Linked DNA regions of Homo sapiens: regions 2 and 3 are each linked to region 1. The links are contacts of gene promoters, found by promoter capture Hi-C in blood cells and fetal thymus (Javierre and others, 2016). All regions are on one chromosome and are shown on one strand. The core of a region is centred on a gene start or on the middle of the fragment in contact, and the rest is flanking DNA. Distances in the headings are between cores, read along the strand shown. Region 1 holds the start of AEBP1 (AE binding protein 1). Region 2 overlaps YKT6 (YKT6 vesicular SNARE protein). Region 3 has its middle 3.1 kb from the start of GCK.

Evidence for each region. Contacts are between HindIII fragments. The CHiCAGO score rates a contact against its expected background, and 5 or more counts as called.
Region 2: a fragment that was not itself captured here is called in contact with the fragment with the promoter of AEBP1 in region 1 in 3 of 17 cell types (endothelial precursors, megakaryocytes and M1 macrophages); the score reaches 7.2 in endothelial precursors.
Region 3: a contact is called between a fragment that was not itself captured here and the fragment with the promoter of AEBP1 in region 1, in 3 of 17 cell types (endothelial precursors, M1 macrophages and megakaryocytes). The highest score is 7.5, in endothelial precursors.

Annotation. Positions count from the first base shown.
Region 1 is chr7:44,101,315-44,106,278 of GRCh38, forward strand. It overlaps AEBP1 (AE binding protein 1), which reads left to right and starts at 3,031. Exons shown (of 21, transcript NM_001129.5): 1 at 3,031-3,604. The coding sequence starts at 3,352. RefSeq lists an enhancer at 1-485. The HindIII fragment of the contact is 6,426 bases long and covers 1-4,764 here.
Region 2 is chr7:44,205,595-44,210,558 of GRCh38, forward strand. It overlaps YKT6 (YKT6 vesicular SNARE protein), which reads left to right. Exons shown (of 7, transcript NM_006555.4): 3 at 791-891; 4 at 1,794-1,898; 5 at 2,539-2,604. Among named protein-coding and RNA genes, the nearest start is that of YKT6, 7.1 kb to the left of the region's middle. The HindIII fragment of the contact is 1,678 bases long and covers 1,913-3,590 here.
Region 3 is chr7:44,190,046-44,195,009 of GRCh38, forward strand. No RefSeq gene overlaps it. Among named protein-coding and RNA genes, the nearest start is that of GCK, 3.1 kb to the left of the region's middle. The HindIII fragment of the contact is 3,494 bases long and covers 44-3,537 here.

The DNA.
Region 1 (4,964 bases), core at 1,781-4,280:
ATGGGGCAGGTTGGGAGGGTCTGCTCCCAGCCTCCCAGACCCTGCCACTCCTGCCTGTCCCCAGGCCCTGATGACCTCTTATCCTTCTGTGCCCTGCAGATCCCCACAGTCAGAACTCAGGCACACTGGGCCTGCTGGCAGGTGAGTTTCCACCTCTGACCAGGTTGAGGCACCAGGCAGCTCTGGAGGCTCAGGAGCTATAGCTTGGGTCCCAGTGGGAGGAGGCTGGCCTGTCCCCCTCCTCAGCTGGCACTAACAGGCCCCTGACCCAACCTCAACTTCTCTCTTGGGGTCTCAGCCCTCATGGCAGGGTTGATGGCCTCAGAGCTACATAGGACCTACTCACTGGGCCATGCTCCCTGTCTCCCTGTTCCCTGCAGGTCAGTTTCGCCAGCTTCCACCCTTGGACAGTTCTGGCTCTCTCAACAACTCTCCTTCCCATTCCAGCAGCAGCAAGGGACAGGGGGCACCCTCCCCAGCGCAGGCCCCACCCTCCCCAGCCCAGTCCTGCCGCAGTGGCTGTCCCTTGGGGTAGGGAAATGCCAAAGCAGTCCCTGCCACATCCATGTGGGAAGCTGAAAGTGGATCACCAGAGTGTCTACCAGCCCCCCACTGTAGCCCAGGAGAACACTTGGATGCAGGTGCAGACCCTGCTAAGTGGCAGGGGTAAGGGACCCTGAAAGCCACTAGGTGCTCTTGGCTACAAGCCTCCCATCCCCCTGACTGGCTTCACTCTGGCAGCAGAGGGGAGAAGTCCCCTCACCGGCCCCGTGGCAGAGCCTGGGCACAGGGCTAAAGGACTTTTTGGTGCAGGTCTTCAAGTGGAGTGGGAGTCCCAGCCCCACCACCCAAAGGGAGGCACATCAGCCTGGCATGGAGGGCAGCTGCCTCCCATCCACCTGCCCACACCCTTGGTGTCAGAGGGCCCCCAACATCATGGCCCTCCTTGTGGCCCAGCTCTCCATGAGAGCTTTTGCACATGTTTTTGTTGGTGACTCGCTGTGACTGAAGAAAAGCCTCCTTCTGTTCCTTTTTTGTTTTCTTATGGCTTCTATTTTCCCTGGCAGAGGATGTTGGACCCAAATCCAATCCATGTGTGAGTTGTTCCCAGGGAAGTGACGTGCCACGCTGCTTCACCCCAGCCTTGGGCCGCCGGGCTTGACATGCTCAACTGGGGCAACGGAGCAAATTCCCAGAACAAGTTTTGAGAAAGATGATTCAGAGCTTTGCAGAGGATGAGGAAAGGGGAGAGCTTGCGGATCCTTGCTGCCACCAGGACTGGCCTGGGGGCACGTGGCAGGCAGAGGCAGGCTCAGGTGCACAGGGAGCCTGGGTGTTGGGGCTCAGGGTCTGCTCTGAGCGCCCCAGTGGGCACAGCTCAGGTTGATCTCTGAGGGCAAATGATGAGAGCTAAAAGGCAGCAGTGTGAGTGCCAAGAATGTGTGCTAGGCACAGCACATGCATGATCCTGTATGAACGACAAGGAGAACAGGGACACAGGTGGACGGCACTGAGGCTACCTGCCGAGATGTGGTGCCTGGGAGGTAGAGCCAGAACCTGACACAGTCCCACTGCTTTTTCAAGGAGATGCAGTGAGAAAGCAAAGGCAGGGTCTTGGCAGGACCAGGTGTGAGAGGAGGCAAGGCCTCCTTGTGGTCCTGCTCCCAGGGGGTGGCATGTATCCCAGGCCCAGCAGCCTCCACTGTGGCCTCCCCGGCTGCTGCCTGCTCCAACTCACTCGGGGCTGCTCTGGGGACCCAGGTGCTTCCTGACCCACTTTTCCTCTTTCCTTTTGACCCCAGGTCCAAACTCTGCCCTGTCAATCATCCCAGGGGCTCCTAGGCTTCCCTACCTGACTACTTCACTGGGGCCAAACCCCGCAGACAATCGTGGCTTAGGGCTGTCTGCCTCTGCACTTGGCCCATGGACTACCTGTGAGCTTTCTCTTGTGTCCTCATTCCTTTAAGGGGGAATGTCCTCGGAGCTCTGTCCTTAGCTCCCCATTCCTCCAGTATGAGACAGGGACTAGGCTTGAGTCACGGGGGACTGTGCTGTGTCACGCCCTGCCATACTAATGGGACCACTCTGCCTGTTGATGGCCGTTGTAGGGCAGCCAACATTTGCCCTGGAGAAGCCTTATGGCAAACACCAGGCACCAAGGTGCACATCCCTGATGGATCCTGGGATCAGTTGACACTCAATCCACCTGCCTTCTGGGTCCTCTGGGCCCTCTGGGTCCATGTGGCAGCTGGAGGTATGGTAGACACTTTTTAAAAAATGAGTTCTGGTAAGAAGAAGGTGATAAATGGCTATTTGTCCACGTTGGGACCCGGAGGGGAGGGATGGCATGCCCTTACATGGGACTCCTACCCCCAGCGGGGCAGCTGGCCACTCTGAGGGCAGTTTTGCACCTGCCTCCTGGCTGGAAAGTGAGTTCCCACTGTGCTGTCCCTCCCTGGGGCCCAGCACGGGGCCCGGCCCCACACCGACCTGAAGAGGTTGGTAGGATGACTGAATGAATTGACGCTGGGATGCAGCAGGGCCCATGGGCAGAGGCTCCAGAGCCTGGGAAGGATGGGGTGGCCTTTCTGTGGCCCTCCGAATTGAGAGAGGTCTCAGAGGCCTGACACCACGGCTTTCCGTCCAGGGTTCCTGGTCACCCGCGGAGGGCTCAGAGCCCCGGTGGACTCGGGGTCCCGCCTTAAGGGGGGTGCCTAGGGCAGAAGGAGGAGGGATGTCGGCCCCCTCAGACCCGCACCCCAGGCCCTCCCCACCACCTTTCCTTCCCTCAGGCCCTCTGTCTTCCCAGTCGCCCCGCCCCCTGCCCCTCTGTCCTAGGCGCAAGTCTCCGGGCTTGGGACGCTCGCCGCCAGCGCCCGCCCGCCTGCCCCGCCCCTAGCCCCCCGCCCCCCGCCCCCCGCCCCCCCGCAGCCCCTCCGTCCACTCTCGGCTCCTCCTTCTCTTCCTCCTCCTCCTCCCCGGGGGTGGGGAGCCGGCTCCGGAAGCCCCGGCGCCCCCGCCCCGGGCCCCGCCAGCGCTTTGGAGACGGCTATCCGCGCGGGAGTGCGCCACGCGGGGCCGGAGCGCCTATTAGCCGCCAGGACCTCGGAGCGCCCCGACCACCCCTGAGCCCCTCTGGCTTCGGAGCCCCCCAGCACCCCTTCCCGGGTCCCCTCGCCCACCCTAATCCACTCTCCCTCCCTTTCCCGGATTCCCTCGCTCACCCCATCCTCTCTCCCGCCCCTTCCTGGATTCCCTCACCCGTCTCGATCCCCTCTCCGCCCTTTCCCAGAGACCCAGAGCCCCTGACCCCCCGCGCCCTCCCCGGAGCCCCCCGCGCGTGCCGCGGCCATGGCGGCCGTGCGCGGGGCGCCCCTGCTCAGCTGCCTCCTGGCGTTGCTGGCCCTGTGCCCTGGAGGGCGCCCGCAGACGGTGCTGACCGACGACGAGATCGAGGAGTTCCTCGAGGGCTTCCTGTCAGAGCTAGAACCTGAGCCCCGGGAGGACGACGTGGAGGCCCCGCCGCCTCCCGAGCCCACCCCGCGGGTCCGAAAAGCCCAGGCGGGGGGCAAGCCAGGGAAGCGGCCAGGGACGGCCGCAGAAGGTAAGAGCCCAGGGCAGGGCGGGGGTGTGGGGGGCTGGCATCTCAGGTGGGAACAGGGGGATTCGGTAGGGTCTGGCCACTCCCCAGTCTGCTAGGGGAGGAATGGCTGGCTTACTAATGCGCACGCGAGCCCAGATGCCTGGAGGGACCCTGTGCTAGGCCGAGGTCAGCGCTGGCGTGGAGGCACATCCAGCACCCGGGCGGCAGGGCCGCTTTTGGGGGCCGGTGGCTCTAGGGTTGGTGCTGTGGTTGTACGGGTCGCTTATCCCCATTCCTCCAGTACGCGACAGGTACTAGGCTTGAGCCACAGGGGACTGTGCTGTGTCACCCCCTGCCATACTAATGGGACCACTCTCCCTGTTGGTGGCACAGCTTCACGTCGTCCCTCCCTCCTGCCTTTGCCCTCCTACTCCAGGAGGTCTCACGTAGGTGAGAGAGTTTCAGGTGGTGGTGAGCACAGGGCTTCAGGTGGTGGTGAGCAATGGGTGGTCCTACATTAGTACAGGAAATTAGATGAGGTGATGCATCACTGAAGCATTTAACCCACGGCCTCTTGCATAATCAGTTGTCAGTAAATCTTAGCTGTTTTCATCGTGGCCCTCTGGAAGGTGGCAGAGGGTCTTGTGATCCCTGTCTCCCAGGAGATTCCAAGGCACCATCCAACATTCCTGATGTCAGCAGCCCCTCCCCTGCCACCCCAGCTCTAGATCTTTCCTGGCTGCTTCCCACACCCTGGGCTGCCTGTGCCCCTCCTGCCTCTGGCTCTCCTTCCAGGCTTGCTCTCCTGGCTCTGGGGCACCGCTCTAGCAGCCCTGCGTCCCCTGGCTGTCTGCATTTGGTAGCTTTCCTGTGTTTCTGCCAAACTTCCCTCATGCTCCCCACCTCTCATCAGGTTCTCAACAGCACTTGCAGCTCCTGCTTAGGGTCCTGGGAGGATTCCCATGGGGAATCCTCACAACCAGTCCCTGCTCCCTCTCCCAGACTCTGAAATGAGTGTGCAGCCACAAGCTCCCTACCTGTCTTTTCTGTCCTCTGTGTGATCCCTGAACCCCCCAGGACTCCCTATCCTTCCAATCAATTCCAAACCCCTTACTTCTCGAAAGGAGACCACTTCCTCTTCTTTGGGCTTCAATACTCAACCAAGTGTCCCTTTTCTTTGAAGCTTTTCTTGCCCCGTAGGAGACCAGGGGAAGGTCTTGGGCCCATGTCCCTTCCTTTGTATGGCAGTTGGCAGGGATGACCAGATGCTCCTCCAGGCCTGGATGGCTCAGTCACCTCTCTGCCCCTTCTGTGCCCAGAACAGAATAGTGGAGGAGTGGATAGTAAGGAACCCCTATTGAGGTTTTGGCAGGTGGGGGGA
Region 2 (4,964 bases), core at 1,502-4,001, 100 kb after region 1:
CTGGGTCAGATCCTTAAGGACAAGAAGGTTCTTATTTGTAAGCTGTAATCCTTACATTTCTCTTTCCTTGGGGATATGGTTAGCTGTATCAACTCTGAATCCTTTCAAAGTGATGGAAATGAACAATCCTGTGGATTGTGAATATTTTGCGGAAGACCTGTACAACTGTACCTTTCAATCATATGAGGATTTTAGCACAGTGCTCTGGAGGCCTTAGCTGGCAGTAGCTAATCTTTTTCTAGACTAACCCCCCTACTCCCAGTCACCCACCAGAGTGGAGCAAACCCAGCAGGTTGCTATAATATGGAAGACTGAGGCCCTGGGGGGTAATTTCCTGTCTTTTGGCTGCTCTGAAAAGATTTTTTAAGAAAGCAGAGGCCTCTTGGCTTGTCCAGGGTTCCCTAAGTTTGGGAGCAGCACAGAGCCCCAAGGGCTCCAGATCCCTAAGATATAGCTTGGCCTGACCCGAGCTTAAGGAATACACTTGGAAATGCTCCTGGGGCCATGTTGTCAAGGGTGTGTTTTCTGCACCACTGGCTGTTTCTTTAAGCCCTGGCTTTGCATACTGGGCCTCTGGGTATTTACTGGTCCTAAAGCAGGCGTTGGGCCAAGCTCCTGTGTGTGGCCCATTGGGCTGTGCTGCTAAGCCTCTCCACAAGACTTGCCCAGAGCTATTGAGCTTCCGAGTGGCTTCATTTGGCCTAACATTGGATGCTTTGATTTGGGGGGATTAAAAGAAGTCTGAAGCCCTCATGTCAGCATCCATGTGTCTGATCTCTTGTCTCCTTAGACTATCTGTGCCACGTCTACGTCCGGAATGATAGTCTTGCAGGTGTGGTCATTGCTGACAATGAATACCCATCCCGGGTGGCCTTTACCTTGCTGGAGAAGGTGAGTTTTTTATTTGCCTCTCCTGGACTTGGATGATGAATGGGCACATTTATGGACTGGGACAGGGGTTGATGGCAGTCCCTGAGACATAAGGGATGAAATGATGTGTCCAAAGTCAACACATTTTTCAGCCCCCTTCCCTGCAACCCAAGAGACAATTTGGCATCCCTGTATGGGTTTCCTCCCCGGTGCTGTCCCTCATGTGAGCTGGGTCTAGGCCACTGAGTCATAGCATCTATTCTCTGGGATGGGACCCTCGGAGACAGCTGTGCCTTGTGTTCTCGCCCCCTGTGCTTCTGCTCAAGGAGTCTCCCTCTTGAATGCCTTCACTCTCCCCATTGCCTCCTGCAGTTGCTGCATCCCTCTACCTTGATGTCAGTCAGTTGCACCACAGAGCTTAGCACCTAAGCATTCTTTAAATTTTTTTGCGTACGGTGCTAATTACTAATATTAACTCTTTGAAGTCAGAGGCTTCATCCTATACCCCAGAGCACCAAAATACCTCCAAACACATGGAATCTGGTGGTTTCTTAAATCTAGGGGACCTAATTCTCTTTTTTAAAAAATTGCTTTGGAAAATTAGAGGACCAGTGCCCCTTTTTTCTGGAAATCTGTAGTTTAAAATTCAAATACCTTTATTACTCCCCAAGTGAGGTTCATCTCGGGCTGGGCATACTTTTGATTCTCAGAATATTTAGGATATGTTTTAATGATAAAAATTTGGAAAGAACTTTAGCCTAGATTTTCTCTGTTGCCATTATATGTCCCCCTCATTCCTCCTTCCTGGGCTGTGAAGGCCAAGGAGCCTCATTCAGGGTGAGGTGCTCAGGGGTGAAGCCCTGTCATTGAGACCACTGGTGAGTGCACAGTGGGAGGCTTGTTGAGTCTCCTTTGTCTTGCAGGTACTAGATGAATTCTCCAAGCAAGTCGACAGGATAGACTGGCCAGTAGGATCCCCTGCTACAATCCATTACCCAGCCCTGGATGGTCACCTCAGTAGATACCAGGTAGGGTTAAAGGAAGCTTCAGCAGACACCATGTGGCCCAGAATCCATGTGAAACTGAAAAAGCCAACTGCCCTGATAGTTCTGGTCTAATTACTTCTGACAGCTTCTGATGCTGGTGTCCTCTCTCAAGCCTTACTGTTTGGAAAACAGAGAATCTACGTTCAGACCGGGGAACCCAAGCTCTAGGCAGGCTTTGGGTTTCTGTTACATGTTAAACAGGCTGTGGGTTTTTTTTTTTGTTTTTTGTTTTTTGAGTTGGAGTCTCACTCTGTTTCCCAGGCTGGAGTGCAGTGGCGCAATCTCGGCTCACTCAACCTGCACCTCCTGGGTTCAAGCGATTCTCCTGCCTCAGCCTCCCGAGTAGCTGGGATTACAGGCATGTGCCACCACGCCTGGCTAATTTTTGTATTTTTAGTAGAGACGGTTTCACCATGTTGGTCAGGCTGGTCTCGAACTCTTGATCTCTGGTGATCCACCCGCCTCATCCTCCCAAAATGCTGGGATTACAGGCGTGAGCCACTGTGCCCGGCCCAGGCTGTGGTTTTTAACCTGTGAAAGTTTGTCCAGCTTCCTCAGTTTTAGGTTTTGTTTGCAGGTAGCCACTCCAGTCCTGACTTTATTATTTTTCACTCTTTCCTAGAACCCACGAGAAGCTGATCCCATGACTAAAGTGCAGGCCGAACTAGATGAGACCAAAATCATTCTGGTAAGCAGGAAGATGGAGAGCAAGCCCAAGAACTGAGGCGGGGGTGCGATTTCCACTGGCCAGGCATGCACAGATCCATCCTCGTTTTAATATAATAGTAACCACGGCACTCTCCAGCAAGTGGGATTGCCCACCCCTTCCCCCACCCCGGGCATCAGACTGTCTTTCCTATACCCTTCTCTTGGTTAATGGCACCCATTGTTTCTAGGGGACCAAGCTGGGAACCAGTGGAACCCTCAAGTCTCCCTTCCTCATGGCTACTGCCTGTCTGACCATTTACTGGGTTCCTAGGGTTTGGCTTCTGAAGACCTGGATTCCCACCCTGGTGCCTTTGTTAGGGTTTCGGGTGCCTCCACACCCCACAGGTGCCTCCCCTTGCAGCGTTTGCATTGAAGGTGAACAGATTGAAGCACCGTGCACTGACCACAGGGCAGCTTCTGGAATATGGGCCCAGGGTTGTCACATAGGCCCCTTTGAAAAGAGCCAGAACCCTGCATTTTGAGCTGAAATCTCCTGATTTGTAACTGTTGCTTCAACTCTTTTTTTTTAAATTTTTGCATACAAGTGGAATGTAAGCAGCTATCTGTTTTTCTCAGGTTTTTCTCTTACAGCCTTTGCCTCTAAGTGGTCCCCTTGCCTCCTGCTCACCTCCAGTCTGTCCACCAGAGAGTAGTCATTGATCTGCACAACTTAGAACCCTTCAGCAGCTCTCAGATCCGCCCCAGGATAAAGTGCAAACTAACTCACAGTCTCCTGACTGGGCCCTGTTCTCTCTTATACCCTTTCTTGCCCAGCTCACACACAGGCGCCTGAAGGTTGGGCCTTTCTGACCAGATGTCACAGTTTTGTCACTGCTTGTTTACATGTCTCCCTGACCAGCGTATGAGCACTGGGACATCTTTCCATCCTGCTCATGATACAGTGCCTAGTTTATACCATGCTCAGCAGTTGATAGATACCTGGAGTGGATTGAAACCCACATACAAAGCTTTACCATTTACACAGGCATAGCTTTAGTGTGTACATCAGCGTCTCCTGGGGTTGGAGTTGTTGGCCTGCGATGGAGCCTGGGAACCTGCATTTTATAAAAAGCATCCCAGGGGCTTCAAACACAGGTGTGCTGACTGCACTCCAAATAACGTGGCTTTGGAATGAACGATAGATGTGAAAGTCTCATGGTATCTGTGTCTTTTGAAACCTTGTGAGCTTTCTTACCACCTAGGTGGCATTTCTCCGTTTTCTCCTCAAGCCATCTCTTTCTGTTGCTCAAGTCCTAGTCTGAGTACCATGACACCTGGGACACCCGCTGTTTCTCCTCTCCCCACGGTGGGGAGTGGATGAGTCCTATTCACCCAGCCTCATCTAGCTGCAGTTGTAAAATCTAGATGATTGGTGTGCATATCTGAATCAGTTAACTTTCTGTGTTAAAAATTTGAGTCGCTCAGCTGTGTGTAGGGATGAAGGACATTCTTGCTGGCTCCTTGTTCTATGGCGCTTCATGTGTGCATCTAGCTGCTGCAGCAGTGGCCATCTGAGGAGAGAAGCGAGCTGCTGCTTCCTGAGGGCCCTGGCAGCAGAGCTGCTGGCTCTTGTGAGGTCTCCATCTCTAGACCCCTTCCCATGGGGTCAGTGTTTTCATTTCCTAAGTCAGAGTTTGTAGTGATGACATTTAGGACATAGCCCATTTAGAAGGCAGGACATGTTCTGTCATAGTGCTGTCTGGTATATATTTGGGGCATGTGTGTAACTTAGAATTTTCTAGGAGCCATATTTTAAAATGATAAAAGGAAAATAGGTAGAATTTAATTTAATTATATATTTTACTTAACGCAGTATATCCAAATACAATTTTTCCAACATGTAATCGGTATAAAACTTGTTTTTTTTTCAGTATAAAACTTACTAATGAAGCATGTGTGAGTTTGCATCTGAAATCTGGTGTGTCTGTACTCAGAGCGCTGCTCAGTTTGGACTTGCCTCACATCAAGTGCTCAATAGCCATTTCCCACCGCCTTTTGTTTCCTGTGGCTGCTGTCAACAGAAACCCTCAAATATTTGCTTTTAACAGATAGCTCTGTGGGCCTGGCTGGTGTCTTTTGGGGCTCTGAGTGTCTGTCCCAGGCCTCTCTCCAGCCTCTGGTGGCTGCTGGCCATCCTTGGCATTCCTTGGATTAGAGGTGCATCACTTCAGGCTCTGCCTCTGCCGTCACGTGACCTTCTGTGTGTGTGTTTCCGTTTCTTACCAGGACATCAGTCATGGAATTAGATGCCACCCTAATCCAGTATTACCTCTTCCTAACTAGTTACATCTGCCAAGACCCTATTTCTAAATATGGTCACATTCAGAGATTCTGGGGATG
Region 3 (4,964 bases), core at 541-3,040, 87 kb after region 1:
AGAGGCCCACAGGGACTGGCTCCTCCTCTGGCCCTGCTCAGGAAGCTTCAGCCTGGGATGCCACCCACTCTCCCCTTCGCAGCCCAAGTGCCCCTGGAGAGGTTGCCCTGTGCAGTGGGGAGTCCCAGTGAGTGGATGGAGCAGGGGGCCAGGGTGCTGGAGCCAACTCAGCTGCGGGCTCAGTCAATAGTCTGGAACAAAACATACTTCTGCCTAAGTCACTGAGGTCTGGTGTGTTTTTCCCACTCGTGGCCCTTCTCAGTCAGGATCGGCCACTTTTCAAGTGTCCAGCGTGACTGGTGGCTACCATATTGGGTAGTGTCGGTATAGACCAAAGAGGGCTCAGGACCCAGCTCCAGGCCACCTACGCTCAGAGGTCCAGCAGAGGGGGTGAGGAGGAGTGGCCAGTGCGATCTCTCCAGACAGATGTGCTGTAACACTTTAAAATCAACTTCCTATTGACGGTCATTGAGGCAGTTTCAGATTTTCACTATTACGAAGCAGGCTGTGGCAGAAGTCCTTGAATTTCACCGGAGTCTAAGTGTGTGTCAGTGTTTCTTCTGGATGGCTCCTGGAGGCTGAATTGCTAGTTCAAATGCTGTACACATTTTACATCTTGGTAGGCAGGACCACGTGGCCTCTTCACATGGCTTCACCAGTTTCTTCTGCCAACACGAGAAGTTTGGCTTTATCTTGGCCAATCCTTCAGATGATAAATCTTTATGAGTTTTTTGCCGATCTGTCACCTCATTGTTGCTTGAATTGCAAAATGCTGGACACCTTTTCATGTGTTTCTTGGTGATTGCATTTCTTCTTCTAAGGATGATTTGTTTACATTACTTAACTATGTTGCTATTGGATTATCTTCTGCCTATGGACTTGGAGAAACTATTTTATATTTCATCTGTAGTATCTATTAATCCTTTGTCTGTTAAATATACTATGATATCTCCCCTAGTCTATTGCTAAACTTAACAACTTGATTAATCGTGTCTTTCATCATACAGAAGTATCTAGTTTTTATGAATTTCAACCTTTGTTTTCTTGTTTTGGGGTTTTTATATCTTGTTAAGAAAACCGTTTCCAATCCCCAAATTGCAAAAATGTTCTCCCACATTTCCTTCTAATATTTTTCCAAGTTTTCTATTTGTTCAGTACTTTAGTCTTTCTGCAATTGCTTGTGCTGCGTGCACCGCCATTATGAGGGCACACCTCACATCCTCGCCTTTCTTCTCATTCCTCTTTTCTGCTCTCCCGGGTCCTGGGAGATGGTGGTTTGGGTATGGTGCAAGGGAATCTCTAATATGGCTATTTGGTGGTGAAGCAATCCCTTCCCCACTGCTCTGGAATGTTGGCTTTCTTATAAATCTTAGCACTACTCATCCCACTTCGGAAAATAATGCTGTTGACAATTTCATTGGAAATACATTGACTTTGTGGGTTTAGGGATTCATTTTAGAGAACTAACCTCTTTATAATATTGAGTTTTCTCATCTAGAAGTATGTGTTGTTTCATTTATTTTGGTCTTCTTTTATGTCCTTCAGGTGAATTTTATTATTTTTCTCATATATATCTTACACATTTCTTGTTATATTTATTCCTAAAGAAAGGCAATACATTTATTAGGAGAAGGAGCAATTGTCATTATAACTAATATTGATGAAAACATTTATGATTCACAAAGTACTTTTGCATTCATTCTGTCATCTAATCAGACAATCTTAGTGTGGCAGGCAGTGGTATTATTATTATTATTTTATTTTTATTTTTTTGAGACAGAATCTCGTTCTATCACCCAGGCTGGAGTGCAGTGGCTCGATCTCCACTCAATGGAACCTCTGCCTCCCAGGCTCAAACAATTTTCATGCCTCAGACCCACGAGTAGCTGGGACCACACACGTGTGCCACTGCACCTGGCTAATTTTTTGTACTTTCTTTTTAGTAGATATGGGGTTTCACCATGTTGACCAGGCTGGTCTCAACTCCAGACCTCAGGTTCCGCCTACCTCTTCCTCCCAAAGTGCTGGGATTACAGTAGAGTGGGGAGGGAGCGGCTGAAGCCAAAGTGTGGAATGTCTGGCCACCACACCTGGTCAGTGGTAGTATTATTACCACCACTTTCCAACTGAGGTCGCTGAGGCTGGGGAGGTTAAAGGATTGGCAGGGACGGTCTCCCCAATTTAATGTCTCCCTAAGGGTTCCTTACCATAGCTTCCTGCTAAGGACAGGGGCCAAGGTAGTCCCTCACACAGAGGTCCCAGGTTCTGCCACATGGCCCTGCCCTCCCTGGACACAGCTGATGAAACATCACCTGATCCAAGAGCAGCCACACTGCACACTGGCCACAGCCTAGTGTAGCCAAGCATTAAATCAGCTTTAAAAATGCATTTTAAGGCTTTTTCTTTAGTCTTAAAATGTAACCTTGAAATGTACTTTGAAACTCTGCTTCTCTCCCTTTCCCACTAGACACTCCTTTGCACCATGCCCGCTTATCTAACTCTATGCTTATTTGGGAATTCCAGGGGCTAATCTTGAAACAAAAACCAGACACGGAACCCCTGCGGAATCCTCCAACTTAGGGGGAGTCGAAACAATTCACCCACCACCATCTGGCCGAAGGAAAGATAACACCAACCAGACCTCAGGATAGGTGATACTCAAGACAGCCATTGGATCAAGACACATAGACCCTGTACCCTGCACTGCTCCCACGTATGTCCCATACCAAGTTTTCCTTTCAGAATCCTATGATAAATTTTAAAATTTGAGATAATTGAATGCTTTAAAACAACAATTCACCATCTTCTTGGTTTGCTGGCTCTAGTTAAAACCACTTTTCCTCCCACCAAACCTCTCCTCTTGTATTTGGCTTTCAAGCGGTGGAATCCGAGTCCGGTTACAATGGGGGACATTTACCCAACAGGGACTGCTTGAAACAATGAGCAGTTTAGTTGGGGACCGCAGAGTTGCAGAATCTCTGAACCATTCAATGCTCCCAAACGAAAGTCCTCTGTCCTCCTCCCTGGGGTGGGGTGGATGGGGCATTCCTGGCTGATGAATTGGGGAGCAGGTGGGGAGAGAGCTGCCCTCCCCAGGTATAGCTTCTTCAGGATGCCCCTTGCCTTTCTGGCCCCATCCCTCCAGACACTGGACACTTCTGCTTCAGCCCCTCCCTCCCCGTCTGCTGGTCCCTGTCCCTCAGCCTGTTGCCTCCTAACTTGACAACTGCTCCCCTCTCTCCCCCGCCACCCTTGGTAGCATCTCTCATTTGCGCCACCTTGCAATTGGTCTCCCCCTGCCCTTTGTCTTGTGTCATTATAGTGGAGCATATTTGGGAGGTGGTTCACATAAACATATGTATTTAATCATCCATGTTAACCCAAAGTTTGTATGTATCCAGCTCGGGGTTCCTTGATCCTCTCCAATCTGTGCCAGTTACTTTGCTTCTCTTTTCTTAAGAGTCGAAGAAAGTCCTGGGCTTTGCTCTGATTGGATGGCCTACTGATGGCCAGCTGAGTGGCCTGTTGATTGGCTGAAGCTTGCATCAGGTGCCTATCCAAAGACCAATCGCTGTGGCAATAAGGACCACTGGTTGATAGGCTGGGGCCTGGGGCCCCATGTGGCAGGGTGTGGGATCAGCCTCTAGTTCATGATGGTTTCCCTGTGAGTACTTTCCCTGTGTGCTCATTGCTGTTGTTTATTAGGTTGTGTTTGGTGTGCCCAGCCTTTCCAAGGGCACACCTTGTGTTCTTGGCCTTCCTCTGCATCCTTCTTTCTGCTCTCATGTGGGGCCTACAGCCCCGAGGATGTGGGAGGTGCACGCCTGGTTGTGGAGCAGGGGACTCCTCTGCAGGCCTTTCCACCTGCCCCTCTTTGACAGCTCTGTAGACTTCCTCTCGCTTTTTGTACGGGGCAACCCCACGACTATCAGGGTACCATTGACAGGACAAGCCACTTGCCTAAATGACCATGTGTCCTAATTCTAAGTTCCTGGCATTCATCCAGTATGGCTACTGATAACTGATATGGTTTGGATATGTGTCCCCACCAAATCTCATCTGAATTGTAATCCCCAATATTGGAGGTGGGGCCTGGTGGGAGGTGTCTGAGTCATGGGGGTGGATCCCTCATGAATGGCTTGGGCCATCCCCTTGGTGATGAGTCAGCTCTTGCTCTGAGTTCACACGAGATCTGGTTGTTTAAAAGTGTGGCACCTCCCAGTGCCTCTCTCTCTCTCACTCCTGCTTCCACTGTGTGATGTGCCTGCTTCCCCTTTGCCTTCCGCCATGACTGTAAGTTTCCTGAGGCCTCCTCAAAGGCTGAGCAGATGCCAGCACCATGCCTCTTGCAAAGCCAGCAGAACTGTGAACCAATGAAACCTCTTTTCTTTATAAATTACCTGGTCTCAGGTATTTCTTTATAGCAATGCAAGAATGGCCTAACACAGCTACATATCCATCTCTAGCCCCTCAGCTGCAGAGGGGTGTCTTAGGACAAATACAGCTTCTGGGAAGCCCCTGCTGGGGCACAGCCTCAAAATCAGGGCACCTGCCTCCTGTCTTCCTTGGCTGTAATCCCTTCCTGCCCACGTATACTCCTGTCCTGTTCCTCCCTTGCTCTGACATCCCCTATTGCTTCGTAGCCAGTGGCAGAGCTCAAACCTTTGGTGGCAGACTCTGTCTGTCTTCCCTGGGGCCTGGAGAACCCAGAGGGAGCCCAGGATGCCTTGGTGTGGGGTTGCAGTGGGGAGCAGTGTTCCTGAGGGCTAGGTGTGCTGACAGACCCTGATTGATGACATCAAGTCTGTGCACCTGAGGCTTGGTGACCTACTCAGGCCATGGAGGCCTGACCACATTGGTGGCCCCTTTCCACACCCTTTTCCTATATGAGCTGTGGAGGCAGCTCAGCTGCCATGGCCTTAGCTGACTGAATGAGGAGGTGTGGGGGCAAGGGCCATTGTGTG